Linked DNA regions of Homo sapiens: region 1 is linked to region 2. Evidence: promoter capture Hi-C in human tissues and cell types (Jung and others, 2019). All regions are on one chromosome and are shown on one strand. The core of a region is centred on a gene start or on the middle of the fragment in contact, and the rest is flanking DNA. Distances in the headings are between cores, read along the strand shown. Region 1 overlaps ENPEP (glutamyl aminopeptidase). Region 2 holds the start of PLA2G12A (phospholipase A2 group XIIA).

Region 1 (7,072 bases), core at 360-2,859, 770 kb after region 2:
ACACCATAGTGTAAGTATCAATCACATATAAGGAAGTACGCACACAGAAAATTACAGAGGTTAATAATTCAGTGTATTATCTCTAATGATACTAACACTTTTGATGGGACACATAGAACTATTACATGTCAAACATTGCTTATGTGTTATTTAATACTCGAAATAACCCTATGACATAAGTGCTGTTGTTATATCTATTTTACAGCTGGGGAGGTCAAGATTCAGTCTTATAAGTAGAGAAAATAGGCAGCATGATATGTGAAAACAAACTTTGTCCTGAACTCTAGCGTCGGTCCTGTCTTAGACTTCATTTTTCTCATGTATACAATGAGGAAGTTTATTTTCAAATCACCTTCAAACTCTAAAATTATAAATAGAGGTCTACAATCCTTGTCCCAAACCCTCATGGCCAGTTGTATGTTGGAATTCAGAAATTTTCAGATTTGTGAAAGGTAATGTAGTTTGAATACTATATGTTAATGATTAACTACAGTGGGATTTGGGGCAATGTCTTATAATCAGTGATACTTCTGCAGCAATTTTTTATAGTGAGAAAAATAAAGATTTTTGAAAAACTCTTAACAGTTCAGGTCATATGATATTGCCAAATTAGTTTGCTTAAACATATAAAAAGTTTTAGAACTCATTGGATTTATTAGTGTGGATTAGGGGTTGTGGGAACTGGACCAGTGAACGGATTGGGGTAATTATCAGTGATGCAAAATATTTTTTCTATTATTATTAATAATTCTGGATTCATAGAATTGACGTGTGGAGTAAAAGAAATGTTGCATGGAAAATGCTTATCACATTCCTTGAAAAAATTTAAGTTCTCAATAATAAGACTAATAAGTAATCATAATACTATCGCTGAGCTTTGTGCTTGGTTTTGGTTGCAGGGACATAAATAATCATTGAAGATAAAGATGGTGCACAGCCTCATTAAATTGTTCAAGGAAGATTGATCTAATGCATCTAGTCATGATTGTCAAGTGAAGTCAAGTGTGGCAAAGGGACACGTAAAGGAAGTAATGGTAATCAACCAGGAATCGATTCTCATGGACTTAAGTTCTATCTCTCAAATGGTTTGAGACACTTGAATGAAAGGGATAACATTAAGAACTCTAAGAGCCTACATTACAGCAGGCTCCAATATGATAAGGGAAAAGCAAAAGCTATGTTAAAGCAGATATGTCTTACCTCCCAAAAGAATATCAGCTGAATAAGGCTGTATAAAGCCCAAAGTTTTTCCACTGATACTAGCTCCATAGATTCAGTGCTTTGAAAGACGACTAATGGTATCCAACAGTAGTATACCAGGTAATTTAATTTGCCTAGGGAAGTTACTGTCTTCAAAAAGTAAATATATGCATGAAAGTTAGGTTCTTGAAGACTTATAAACTTCATATTTATGTTTATATATAATGTTTACATATAAAGTGATAAAGTAGACATACGAACTTTATATTTAAACGTTAATAGGGTTCTTACATTTAAAAAGTCATATATGACTCTTTTAAAAGATAAAGAAGAAAGAAAATACATGTATGCATCCCTCCTCACTCCATGTTATTTCAGTATGGGTTGTCACACGCTTAAAAAATCATCTCAGTAAAGCAAGCACATAAACTAGAAAAATGTCAATTATTAAATAATGATGACGAGTCAGGGGTAATTGCCTGAACTTTATCATGTACAGAAGTGCTGAGGCTTAGCAGATGATAGGGGAGAGTCAGTCACCTCTGCCAAAGCCCAGAGAGAGGAGAAGGAGATGCAGATGGAGCATACATTAAAGGTGGGGTCAGAGAGCGGGAAAAGTGTGGTGAGGATGAGTGAAGGCATCAGCACAAGGGAGGATGCTTTCAAAATCACCAAATCCAAGCATCACAGATGTTCTGTTGTTACACGGATTACAGAAACCATGTTGGAGCTTTAAACGACAGAAAATGTTGGCATGTTGGTAGAGTCTTTAATATAAAAATGTTTGTGATATATGGTAGTTAAGACACAGTTATGCTTTGGCTTAATATGTTACAAAATTAATGGGCTGTAGCTATATATTCTCTGATTGTTTGGCTCTGTTGATCAAAGTAGCAGTTATAGAATAAAATCTATGACCTGATTTTTTTATGGTAACTTCTGTAAAATATTTCTTTTTTAAGCTTTTATTTTAGGTTCAGGGGTATATGTACGGGTTTGCTATATAGTAAATTGCATGTCATAGGGGTTTGGTGTACAGATTGTTTCACTTCTCAGGTAATAAGCATAGTGCCCGATAGGTGGTTTTCTCATTCTCACCCTCCTCCCTCTCTACTTTCAAGTAGGCCTTGATGTCTATTGCTTCCTTCTTGGGGTCCATGAGTACTCAATGTTTAGGTCCCACTTATAAGTGAGAAGATGTGGTATTTGGTTCTCTGCTGCTATGCTAGTTCTCTTAGGATAAAAGACTCCAGCTTTATCCATGATGCTGCAAAGGACATGATCTCATTCTTTTTTATGGCTGTGAAGTAGTCCATGCTGTATATATACCACATTTTATTTATCCAGTCTACTGTTGATGAAAATAAGTTGATTCCATCCACGTCTTTGCTACTGTGAATAGTGCTGTGATGAACGTATGGAGGCCTGTGTCTTTACGGCAGAACAGTTTATATTTCCTTGGGTATATATATCCTGTAATAAGATGGCTGGATCATTTGGTAATTCTGCTTTAGTTCTTTGAGAAATTGCCAAACTGCTTTCCACAATGGATAAACTAATTTGCATTCCCACCAACAGTGTATAAGTGTTCCTTTTTCTCTACAAGTTTGCCAGCATGTTATTTTTTGACCTTTTAATAATAGCCATTCTGACTGGGTGAGATAGTATCTCATTGTGGTTTTGATTTGCAGTTCTCTAATGATTAGTCATGTTGAGCATTTTTTCATATGCTTGTGGGCCATATGTGAAAAGTGTCTTTTGAAAAGTGTCTGTTCACATCCTTTGCCCATTGTTTAATAGGGTTGTTTGTTTTTGCTTGCTGATTTAAGTTCTTTACAGATTCTGGATATTTTACCTTAGTTGGATGCATAGTTTGCAAATATTTTCTCTCATTCTGTATGTTGTCTGTTTACTCTATTGATAGTTCCTTTTGCTGTGCAGAAGCTCTTTAGTTTAAGTCCATTTGCCTACTTATGGTTTTGTTGCAGTTTCTTTTGGCATCTTTGTCATGAAATCTTTGCCAGGTCCTATGTCTGGAATGGTATTTCCTAGGTTATCTTCCAGGGTTTTTATAGTTTTAGGTTTTACACTTTTTAACCTGTCTTGAGTTGACTTTTGTATATGGTGTAAGGAAGGGGTCCAGTTTCAATCTTCTGCATACGGCTAGTCAGTTATCCCAGCATCATTTATTGAATAGAGAGTCTTATCCCTATTGCTTCTTTCTGTCAACTTTGTTGAAGATCAGATGGTTGCAGGTGTATGGCATTATTTCTGGGCTCTCTATTCTGTGTCATTGGTCTGTGTGTCTATTTTTGTCTTAGTACCATGCTGTTTTGGTTACTATAGGCTTGTAGTATAGTTTAAAGTCAGGTAATGTGATTCCTCCAGCTTTTTCTTTTTGCTTAAAATTACCTTGGCAATTATATTTTTGGTGCCATATAAATTTTAAAATAGTTTTTTTCTAATTCTGTCAAAACTATCACTGGTTGTTTGATAGGAACACCACTGAATCTGTGAATTGCTTTGGGCAGTATGGCCATTTTAACAATATTGATTCTTCTTATTCGATGTTTTCTTTTTTTTTAATTATTATACTTTAAGTTCTAGGGTGCATGTACACAACGTGCAGGTTTGTTACATATGTATACATGTGCCATGTTGGTGTGCTGCACCCATTAACTCGTCATTTACATTAGGTATATCTCCTAATGCTATCCCTCCCCGCTCCCCCCACCCCACGACAGGCCCTGGTGTGTGATGTTCTCCTTCCTGTGTCCAAGTGTTCTCATTGTTCAATTCCCACCTATGAGTGAGAATATGCAGTGTTTGGTTTTTTGTCCTTGTGACAGTTTGCTGAGAATGATGGTTTCCAGCTTCATCCATGTCCCTACAAAGGACATGAACTGGATGTTTTCTTTATTTTTGTCGGACTGAGTTAGTTTGGGGAGCCAGTTTTTGAGCTCTGAGATTCTTTCTTCAGCTTGGCCTATTCTGCTGTTAATAATTGTGATTTCATTATGAAATTCCTGTAGTGTGTTTTTTTTAGCTCTGTCAGGTCATTTTGGTTCTTTCTTATAACGGTTATTTTGTCTTTCAGTTCCTGTACTGTTATATTGTAATCCTTAGTTTCCTTGGATTGGTTTCAACTTTCTCAATGGTTCTCAATGGAATCTCAATGATCTTCCTTCCTATCCATATTCTGAATTCTATTGCTATCATTTCAGTCGTTTCAGTCTGGTTAAGAACCCTTGCTGTGGAACTAGTGTGGTTCTTTGGAGGAACCAAGGCAGTCTGGCTTTTTGAGCTGCCAGAGATCCTGCACTAGTTCTTTCTCATCTGTGTGGGCTGACTTTCCCTCAACTGTGGTGGCTGATGTTCCCTCAACTGTGCTGTAATTTGAGTACAGTCAGTTGATTTCTTTCCTGGATGTTTTCAGAGGACGAAGTGTTTGTGCTGGGTCATTATTTGCGCTGAATTCATGTCCTTTGTTTCTCAGGGGCGTTATGTTAGCAAAGTATTTTTGGTGCTGAAGTTTGGGCTATGATCCAGTAGATGGTGCTTAAGCATAATGGCCAGTAGTTAGGCTCTTGCTCAGCCACAAGGCTCCTCTGTGTTTCCTCCTAATTGCAGCTGTGCTCTCTCTCAGTGCTCTGAAACTGCCTGCTCCTCTCCAACTCAAGTACTGGCTGCAGATCTCAGCTTGGCACTCCTGGGCTGCTCACCACAGCCTTGGAGCAAGCTCAGGCTTTATGCTCCTTCTGCAGCCTGGAGGCAGCAGGGGAAGGGACCTTGGCAGTTGCTGTAGCAGAGGGCTTTTCACCGGTCTTTTGGAACTCCACCCCAGAGAAATGCAGAGCCACTACCAATTGGTGCAATCAGCCCGGGGTCAGGTGGTTGTATTGTGGGCCCAAGCCAAGGGCCTGCCTGGTGATGAGCAGGGGTAACAGGGGGTTGTGGCTGGGACAAACTGGCTTCTTTTCCTTAGGGTGGCTGCAGCTTACTGGAGATATGATTAAAGCACTCAGGGTCTTTGATCCATACCTAGTCCAAGGGCAGCAAGGGCAGTACCATTGCAGCAGCCATGGCAGAGGGGCTTTCAGTTGCCTCTGGGAGATCCACCTTAGAGAAATGCAGAGCTGCTGCTACTGGGAATGTTCAGCCAGGGGATGGGGCCACTGCACTGCTGGCCTGAGCTGAGGTCCCTGCTTGGTGAAGAGCTGACCCTGATTATGAAGGGTCATAGATCACAGATGATCTGCAGACTGACCAGGCTGCAAAGACAGAGCATATTTCTATGGACTTGAGTTTCTCAGAAACAAAAGAGGAAGGGACTGCTTTTATTTTGATTGAATTTACATTAACATCAATCTTCTTTAAACACTGCCTTCCACTGTCACCAACAGAAATACAAAAAAAGAAAAATGAATTACATTGTCTCAGAAGCATACTGCTTAAAGGGAGTTCATTTACTGACATGGGAAATGAGAAAATATTAGTGGAAAGAACACATTGAGTCTGTCTCCTTCCCATTGCTCCACCTACGGTGGGAGACCTCACCATGATCTTTCAACTTCTTTTACAATTCTCTTTCGCTCACCAAATGTTGTGTGCAGCACCAAAGCACTGAATATGTAGACAACAGTGGAGCGGGTCAAGAGGACTGCCCTTCCTGAAGTTTTTAATGCAGAGAACAGATGTGATAGAAAATCTGAGAGTTTTGACACACCAATTAGTTCACAGAAGAAAAATTCTGAGACTCTTGGTTTATGACATGGCAATCCTGTACGAACGTGATGACTTTTATTTTAGACGGTTAATTCCCTTTACTCTGTTCAATGGCCAAAAACTGGAGCCTTAGTTTCACTCAACTTCTTGGAAAAATACCTGTCATTGTTCACAAAGAGGACAGGAGGGTAATCCAAACAGTTTCACTTTTTGATTGCTTAACAACTATTAGAGAAAATGTATCATCACTTCTGTAAGAAAAAAAAAAAACTTCTAAGAGTATTGAGATGATTGAGTGAGTTGTGCCGTCTTCGGAGGTGAAGACGAACACATCTTTATTTATGCAAATAAAGCAAGAATGCCAGTTACCTAGTGGATGTGAGAATAGTGAGCCAGCACTGGTAATTTAAGGGATGCTCTTTCAGAATGTGTTCTTTATATTCGTGAATCATTCCAGTGTTCTTTGCTTCTAGGAAAAGGTGGTTCAAGATGTGTGCCTAAGTGAATACCAAAACTAGCAACGCATTGGGAATAATAAAGAGAGTGGGCAATATTTTCTTTTTTTCTTGTTTAAATCCTGAGTCAGCTGTTCTAATTAGGTAAATGGTCTTGAACTTACTAAATGATTACATCTTTTGCTTTCCTTGAGGGTTTTGAATCAGGTTGTAGGCTTAGCAGGTATATTTTATTTGAATTTCTCACAAACTTTTAGCAGACACTAGTTGTCTGAGGTACTGCTTCCTCTTTCAGATATTGAGAAATGCCTAAACACCTGTAATATTCTTTTCCAGAGACCACATCTACTTTCACGACACTATGTTGAAGAGGATTCTTGAAAATTTTTTATAAAGTCAGACATGCTTAGAATTGGGGACAAAAATCTGTACTTGGTTTGATTTATAAATTATGTCATAAGGACACAAAGTAGTGACTTAGAGAATTGATGTAGCTTACCAAGATGACTTTCTCTCAGGGAAAGTTTGGATCATTATATTTTAGGTTCTGGAGCTGAATAGTTGGAATATCAAAAGGGTTATTTCGAAATAACTAGATAGAAAAGCACAAGTAGATAACACGTATTCAGGGGCTCTTTGCATGAGAAAAATCCCATTAATTCAATTCCTCTAGGACAAATGACACAGAGAGA
Region 2 (7,203 bases), core at 2,635-5,134:
ACTTACCCAAGGCTATGACTCCAATAATTCTCTCCCTCGTCAGTATTTCTACTCTCCACTGAACCATTCTCAAAAGCATACAAATGTGTTATTATTTTTCCTAATGCCCGAAAACTGTTCTTTCCACGGTCTTCCCCATATCAGTTAATGGTAATTCTGTCCTTCCAGTTGTTCAGGCCAAAAACTGTGGTATCATTTTTGACTTAACTCATACCTAACTTCTAAGCCATCAGCAAATCTTTTAGGTCCTTCCTTCAAAATATATCCAAAATCCAACTACTTCTCATTACCTCTGTTGCTACCAACCTGAGCAAAATCACCCGTCTTTTGTCTGGACTCCTGCATGCGTCACCCTGCTTCCATTTTTACTCCCCCACTCCCTTGACCCCTTCTGTTCTCAGCACAACAGCCAGAGGGATCCTAGAAAACATACGTCACTGAATTAATTAATGACTTATTCATCATTCTAAAAACATTTACAAGCCAGTTTTGTGTTCTATTTTTCAAAGGAAATCGAAAAGTTTTCTTCCTTAAATCTTCCTTGCTGTCAGGGAGAAAAAAGTTGAAGAAAATAACGGATCATCAAATTTATTTCCCTAAATACTTAACTCTCAATAAGGCCTTTTTCCTACCCAAGAGAGGATGGCCAAAACTAAGGGAGCAAGTCTCCATAATGCCAGTCCCTCAGGTAAAGCAAGGACATGTGCCCTTTATTTGACCAACCTCTCCCTACCATTAACTCACTCTTTTTTTTTTTTTTTAAAGCTCTCTTGATCTCTTTCGTGCAACTAAAAATACCCCTTAATCACCATGTTTCTCCAGATTTGGGATTGTTCTGTTTGGTTCTGATTTGGTCACCTGAATTCCAAAATATAGGAAAGGTTGAATTGTTCCAGAGAGACTGCTCGAGTAACAGCAATTTTATTATTATTATTATTATTATTATTTTTGAGACAGAGTCTTGCTCTGTCACCCAGGCTGGAGGCACGGTCTCGGCTCACTGCAACCTCCACCTCCCAGGTTCAAGCTATTCTCCTACCTCAGCCTCCCAAGTAGCTGGGACTACAGGTGTGCACCACCATGCCCAGCTAATTTTTGTATTTTTAGTAGAGACGGGGTTTCACCATGTTGGCCAGGCTGGTCTCGAACTCCTGAGCTCAACTGATCCGCCCGCCTCAGCCTCCCAAAGTGCTGGGATTACAGGCATGAGCCATTACGTCCTGCCTAATTTTTTTTTTCATTGAGATCCAATTATCTATCAGTATGGTGACTTGGACTTGAAACCACATGTCCGTTAAACGTAGAGTACTTACTAAGACAAAAAATTTTTTTTCACTGAGGCATATAACATTTCTTAAATTCTCAAATTCCTTTGTGTTTTTTTGTGCCAGAGACCTTCCTCTAAACTCCAAATAGTAAATTTTGAGAAGCCTGTAGAAGATGAAAAAGATTAAAAAGAAAGATTAAGCCAGGTGTAGTGGGGGCATGGCCTATAGTCCTAGCTATTTGGGAAGCTGAGGCAGGAGAATTGCTTGAGCCCAGGAGTTGGAGGCTGCAGGGAGCAATGATCACACCACTGCCCTCTAGCCTGGGCACAGAGGGAGACCTTGCCTCAAAAATATTAACAAAAAATAAAATAAAAAGACTAAAACAGTATTTTAACAAGGCTGGTATTCATTCAACTTCAGGCATGTTTTAAATGTAAATAAACTCTAGAACCCTAGACTAATAAATTTATGAAGACGACTCCTTCCAAGTCTTCCCTATCTCTGTAAATGGCAACCGTTTCCTTCCTTTGGCTCAGGCCAAAACCTTCAGAGTCATCCTTGACTGGCCTTTCTCCTCAGGTCCATTGCACTTGCTATTCCCTCTGTCTGGAATGCTGTTTCTCCAAATAACCACATTCCCTCCCCTTACCACGTGCAGATTTCTTCTCAAATATTCTTTCATCAGTGAGGCCTTTGCTGAACAACCCATTTAGAAGAGTAAATTGCCTCCAACATGGCCCCTCGTCTGCCCTGATCAGACTCCACACTTCCCCTAATTTTACTTATTTACTAGTTTACTGCCCATCTCTCCCTCACCAGAACTCAAGCTCCACGGACAGAGATTTTTGTCTGTTTTATTAACTGCTGAATCTCAAATTAGAACAACATCTGAAGCACAGTTGGGACTCAAATATTTGTATAATGAATAGGAATGACTAAGTAAAACTGTAACATTTGCTTTAGGAAAGGCAACTATTTGATCCTTAAATTATGCACTTAATCCTCCGAACAAGTTCTACAAGAATAAAAACATCTTCATGAAGCATACGTTTAGGTGGTAACGTTTAGGCACAAATTTAAGAAGCAATGCAACATGTCTCAGCACCTGTTCAGCGCTTTAAAGTATACAAGATACAGTTCATCCTTTACTTCTATTAACATAAAACTAGAAATTATCTTGAAAATTGCAGGCAGCATGTGGCATCATAGGTTTACATGATACCAGTTCCTTTTAAGTTCACCTATACAATCAGGTTCCAACAATGAAGTCACTGGATCCCCGATTATTTTCCGCTGCCAGCATAATGAGACTCTAACCTTGGCTAATCTTATTGGAAACATGATCTCCCAACTGCTCTCTTAACATTTTCAATTTCCAAACAAAAGTCCAATATTTTTCTGACCTATTAAAATATTTAAGCACTCAAAAATGTGCTACAAAAGAACTATCTCTGCCTGAAATACTGAGTTGATTAGTACTCATACCGCCACCAAACAAATTCTCAGGTTCAAAGAGAAAGTTCAAAAAATATTAAAAGAGTAAATGAAGATAACTGTATTAACGTTAACCAACAATGAGGAGGAGGCGGGTCACTGATATCTAAGGAAAGAAGAGTTATCGGAACCCTTTCTCAACACTCGAGTACACCAAAAGTCTGTACAAAGGTCGCAAGTTATTGTCTATGGGTTTGCAGAAAAAAAACCATTTAATATCAATTATAGAGAAAGTTAATACGGCATGGTTTTTAAATTCTCAGTTTGCTTCGCATGTTCATCCAATTTACAGAAGCAAAAATGAGCTAAAACCAGTCTGTTCCACTCTATTCCCATGATTCCTACGTCAGTAAGTTCTTCGGCAACTTGGTGCAATTGAGGGGGGGAAAAGGTAATTCAGAAGCAATGCAAATGGGACGGGGGGTACACCTCTCCGTTAGAATGTGACCTCTCACATTCTAACAATAGTGGTGCGAACTTGTACCCAGCTTGCTCAATCACTAGAACGGCAAGATTCTAGCAGTGGTTAAGTTTTTCCACAGCCGAAGGACACCGTCAAGGTCTGCCTTGCATCTGTCACTCACACCTCCAGGATCTCCGTCACCCCAATCCCCCGAAAGCACGAGCCCTCGCTGGGCCCGGGTGCCCCCTCACCGTCACTGCATTTATACTGGCAGAGACCGTCCTCGCCTCCCAGGAGGTCCAAGGCGGCGTTCAGGTACGTGTCTATCTTATGAACGCCGTTCCGGATGGTCTTCAGGGTGGCTCTCCAGTCGGTGGTCTGGGCCTGCTCCTGGCACCTGACAACAGCGGCCATGAGGAGGAGCAGGAGGGTGAGCGCGGGGCGCGAGAGCAGGGCCATGCGCGCAGCGCCGGGCTCTACGGGTCCCCGAGCCGCGGCGCGGGGCGCGTCCCCACAGAGTCCCCAGGACGCGCTAGGCAGCGGCGCGGGCCCCGGACTTGGCAGCAGCCAGCTCCATATCCACGCCTCCTTCCCGGCTGGCCCTCAGGATCTCGCTGTCTTTACGTGAACCGCCTCGGGCAGGCAGCGCCGTCGCGGGGACGCGCCCGCTCACCTGGACCAGCGCGCCCGCTCACCTGGGCCAGCAACCGTCCCCTGTGCGCCTGCGCCGGAGCACGGCGCGTCAGCGGCGCACGGGAGGGGCGGGACGCGCAGGGGTGGGGCGGGGCGGGGGCGGGGTTGGGGGGGGCGGGGAACCGGGGGAGGGGCGCGCGGGGCGGGAAACGGGGGCGGGGCCTCCATGCCCACGTGGTCTCCGCGGCACCCTCCCAAGACCCTTGGTCCTGGTTCACAAGAGAACCTTAAAAAGTACCCAGGCCTGAGCCCCTTTTCTAGGGAGCCTGATTACGTTGTCCCAGGTGGCAGTGGGCGTCGGTATTTTTTAAGAAAGCTCTCCGGGCTGTTAACCGTGAAGCAAGAGTTGCAGAGCTAACCCCGGTGGCCTAACCTGACCAGTCGGGGCTCAGCACAGTAGCCCCGAGAGACAAGCTTTTCTGGGTGTGGACAACATCGGAGAAAATAACCCCTGTGCCCCCTCGCAGAGAGCGCTGCGAGAGGTCCAGCTGAGTTTCCGGCTTGAAGACGTGGTTCCATTGGCAATGTGGGCAGAGTCCGGCTGTCAGCTCGCAGAGCAGGGCTTTTCCTCCTTGCGTCCTCTCCCGGTCCTCCAGATCTGCTGTGGCCGCGGTTGGGGGAGCGGGATCTGGAAGATGCCAACCCATGCCTTGGCGGTGCCTGACTCTAATCAGGACGAGCTAAATGCTAGTTTAGACTTTCCGGAAAAAGAAAATGGGCCAACATAAAAATCATAAAATTCTCCCCTGGTAAGGAAGAAACAGTAGTGTAAACTTAAATACAGTAAAAAGTAAAATAAATCTTAAGGAAGTCATTGTTTTTCTACTCAAGGGATTTTGTAACTTGATAGTTACAGTGACGTTTGTTTCTCTGTACCTACCACCCTGCCCCCAGCATTGTGCGGGATCCATAAATAACTATTGCAGTAGTACTTTGTATCAGTTGTAAATATCTGGTTATCTTAGTATCACAGCAGTTTCCAAGAATTTTACAGTAAGATCCAGAGCAATGTTGAAAGTATTGGGCAGACCAAGCGCGGTGGTTTACGCCTGTAATCCCAGCACCTTGGGAGGCCTGGAACTCCTGAGGTCAGAAGTTCGAGACCAGCCTGGCTGACATGGTGAAACCCCATCTCTACCAAAAATACAGAAAATTAGCTGGGCGTGGTGGCGGGCACCTGTAATCCCAGCTACTCGGGAGGCGGAGGCAGGAGAATCACTTGAACCCAGGAGGTGGATGGATGTTGCAGTGAGCTGAGATTGCACCACTGCACTCCAGCTTGGGGCACAGAGCGAGACTCTAAAAAAAAAAGAAAGTGAGTAAGTATTGGGCATAGGTGTGTCCTTTCTATAAGAATTACCAATAAGTTCTAGGTTTGGCCTTTTGTGTTTGTTACAAACTAAATGAGCTTATAATAAACGTTCAGTGCACAGTTCATAAAAATTACATCCCTCTTTATTGAGTGCTTACTATGTGCCAGGCACTTCATGAATATGATCGCTCACATTCAGAACACTACTTTACAAGGATGCAGACTTTGGGCAAGTTAGAAACATAGAAAGGCATTCCTCCCTACAAACAGGGTAGCCCAACAAACGGTGTAGCTCCTGGCTGGAGACTGCCTGCACTTCACTCAGCCCCTCAACCAGGAGTCTTGGGCAGTGATTAATTCCTACCACAATGGAGAAGGGGGAAGAATGTTCCCTGGAAGGTATTATTATCTTCCTCTTTTACAATAAAAGAGTCGAGGTGAGAAGTCATGTGACAGTATCTACTCCAAACCAAGGCCTCTGTCTTCACAAAATACCACAGATATTTTTATTTTTTAATTTTTAGACAACACATTTCAATACATTTTAAAAAGGGAACTTAGAATCATTGTCTTAGCTTTCTGGAACATTGGTTTCTCAGCTCCAAAGTATGAAAGTTGGACTAGATTACCTCTGAGATACCACCACCTGAATCCTTAAACCAGGCTTGGTTCTTACAACTCCCTAGTCCAGGGACAAGACTTTCAAAAGAAAGGATAGAATGTAATAAAATAACCTAGTTCCAGCCCTCAGTTATGACCCAAAGCCTCTCCTTTCCCCCACTTTCTCTATTTATTTACTTCTTTGTGATCTCATCTAATTTCTTACACCTTAACTACAGCCTATACTCTGAGGAATCAGACGTAGTTTTCTTTGTCTGATCTCTCCTTAGGGATTAAATTCTCAAATGCCAGTTCTTCTGGCTTGATGCAGCTGTTCTCTTTCTCTCAAGCAAATCTTTCCACTGTCTTCCCCATGAGAATCACCACCATTTTTGTAGAAAACAAGACTCTAAGTTTTATTTTCACATTCTTTTCACATTTAATCATTATATATTTGTTGTTCTGCTGCAGTAATTACAAGGTTTACGTTTTCCTCTTAATTGATGCTGTTAAATACCAGGGATCTGCACTGACCACAGACTATCTGTATAATTTGTAGGGCTCAGTGCAAAATAAAAATACAGAGCCCCTTGCTCAAAAATTAAGAATTTCAAGGTGATGGCCGGGTGCGGTGGCTCACGCCTGTAATCCCAGCACTTTGGGAGGCTGAGATGGGCAGATCACGAGGTCAGGAGATCGAGACCATCCTGGCTAACACGGTGAAACCCTGTCTCTACTAAAAATACAAAAAGTTAGCTGGGCATGGTGGCGGGCACCTGTAGTCCCAGCTACTCGGGAGGCTGAGGCAGGTGAATGGCGTGAACCCGGGAGGCAGAGCTTGCAATGAGCCAAGATCGTGCCACTGCACTCCAGCCGAGGCCACAGAGCAAGACTCTGTCTCAAAAAAAAAAAAAAAAGAATTTCAAGGTGATAACAGCAGAGCATTAAAATAAGTACAGAGCCCTTTTGACTGTGGGGCCTTGTGCCACTACACAGGATGCATGCTCTGATTTACCATATCATATAAATTTTTTTTTTTTGAGTCTGGCTCTGTTGCCCAGGCTGGAGTACAGTGGCACAATCTCAGCTCACTGCAACCTCCGCCTCCCAGGTTCAAGCTATTTTCCTGCCTCAGCCTCCCGAGTAGCTGGGATTACAGGTGCCCGCCACCACACCTGACTAATTTTTTGTATTTTTAGTAGCAATGGGGTTTCACCAAGTTGGCCAGGCTGGTCTCGAACTCCTGACCTCAAGTCATTCCCCTGCCTTGGCCTCCCAAAGTGCTGGGATTACAACATGAGCCACTGTGCCCAGCTCATCTCACGTAACTTCTAGATGACCCACTTCCATCTTTTCTTCCCAAATTTTGGCATAAACTGTTTGAAAAGAGCCTTCTTTACAGGACACTTTCATCTAACCAGCAAAACCTGTTA

What was found. The method cuts DNA at HindIII sites, captures the fragments that hold promoters and counts their contacts. A contact is called where the count stands out against the background at its distance.
Region 1: a contact is called between a fragment that was not itself captured here and the fragment with the promoter of PLA2G12A in region 2, in 1 of the 25 tissues and cell types used here (lymphoblastoid cells).

The regions. Positions count from the first base shown.
Region 1 is chr4:110,499,130-110,506,201 of GRCh38, forward strand. The region is part of intron 3 of ENPEP (glutamyl aminopeptidase); the gene reads left to right. Among named protein-coding and RNA genes, the nearest start is that of ENPEP, 27 kb to the left of the region's middle. The HindIII fragment of the contact is 7,394 bases long and covers 1-5,306 here.
Region 2 is chr4:109,726,186-109,733,388 of GRCh38, forward strand. PLA2G12A (phospholipase A2 group XIIA) reads right to left here and starts at 3,885. Exons shown (of 4, transcript NM_030821.5): 1 at 3,417-3,885. The coding sequence starts at 3,624. It also overlaps a transcript of CFI not described here. RefSeq lists enhancers at 3,274-3,343, 4,003-4,879 and a silencer at 3,674-4,013. The HindIII fragment of the contact is 10,778 bases long and covers 1-5,943 here.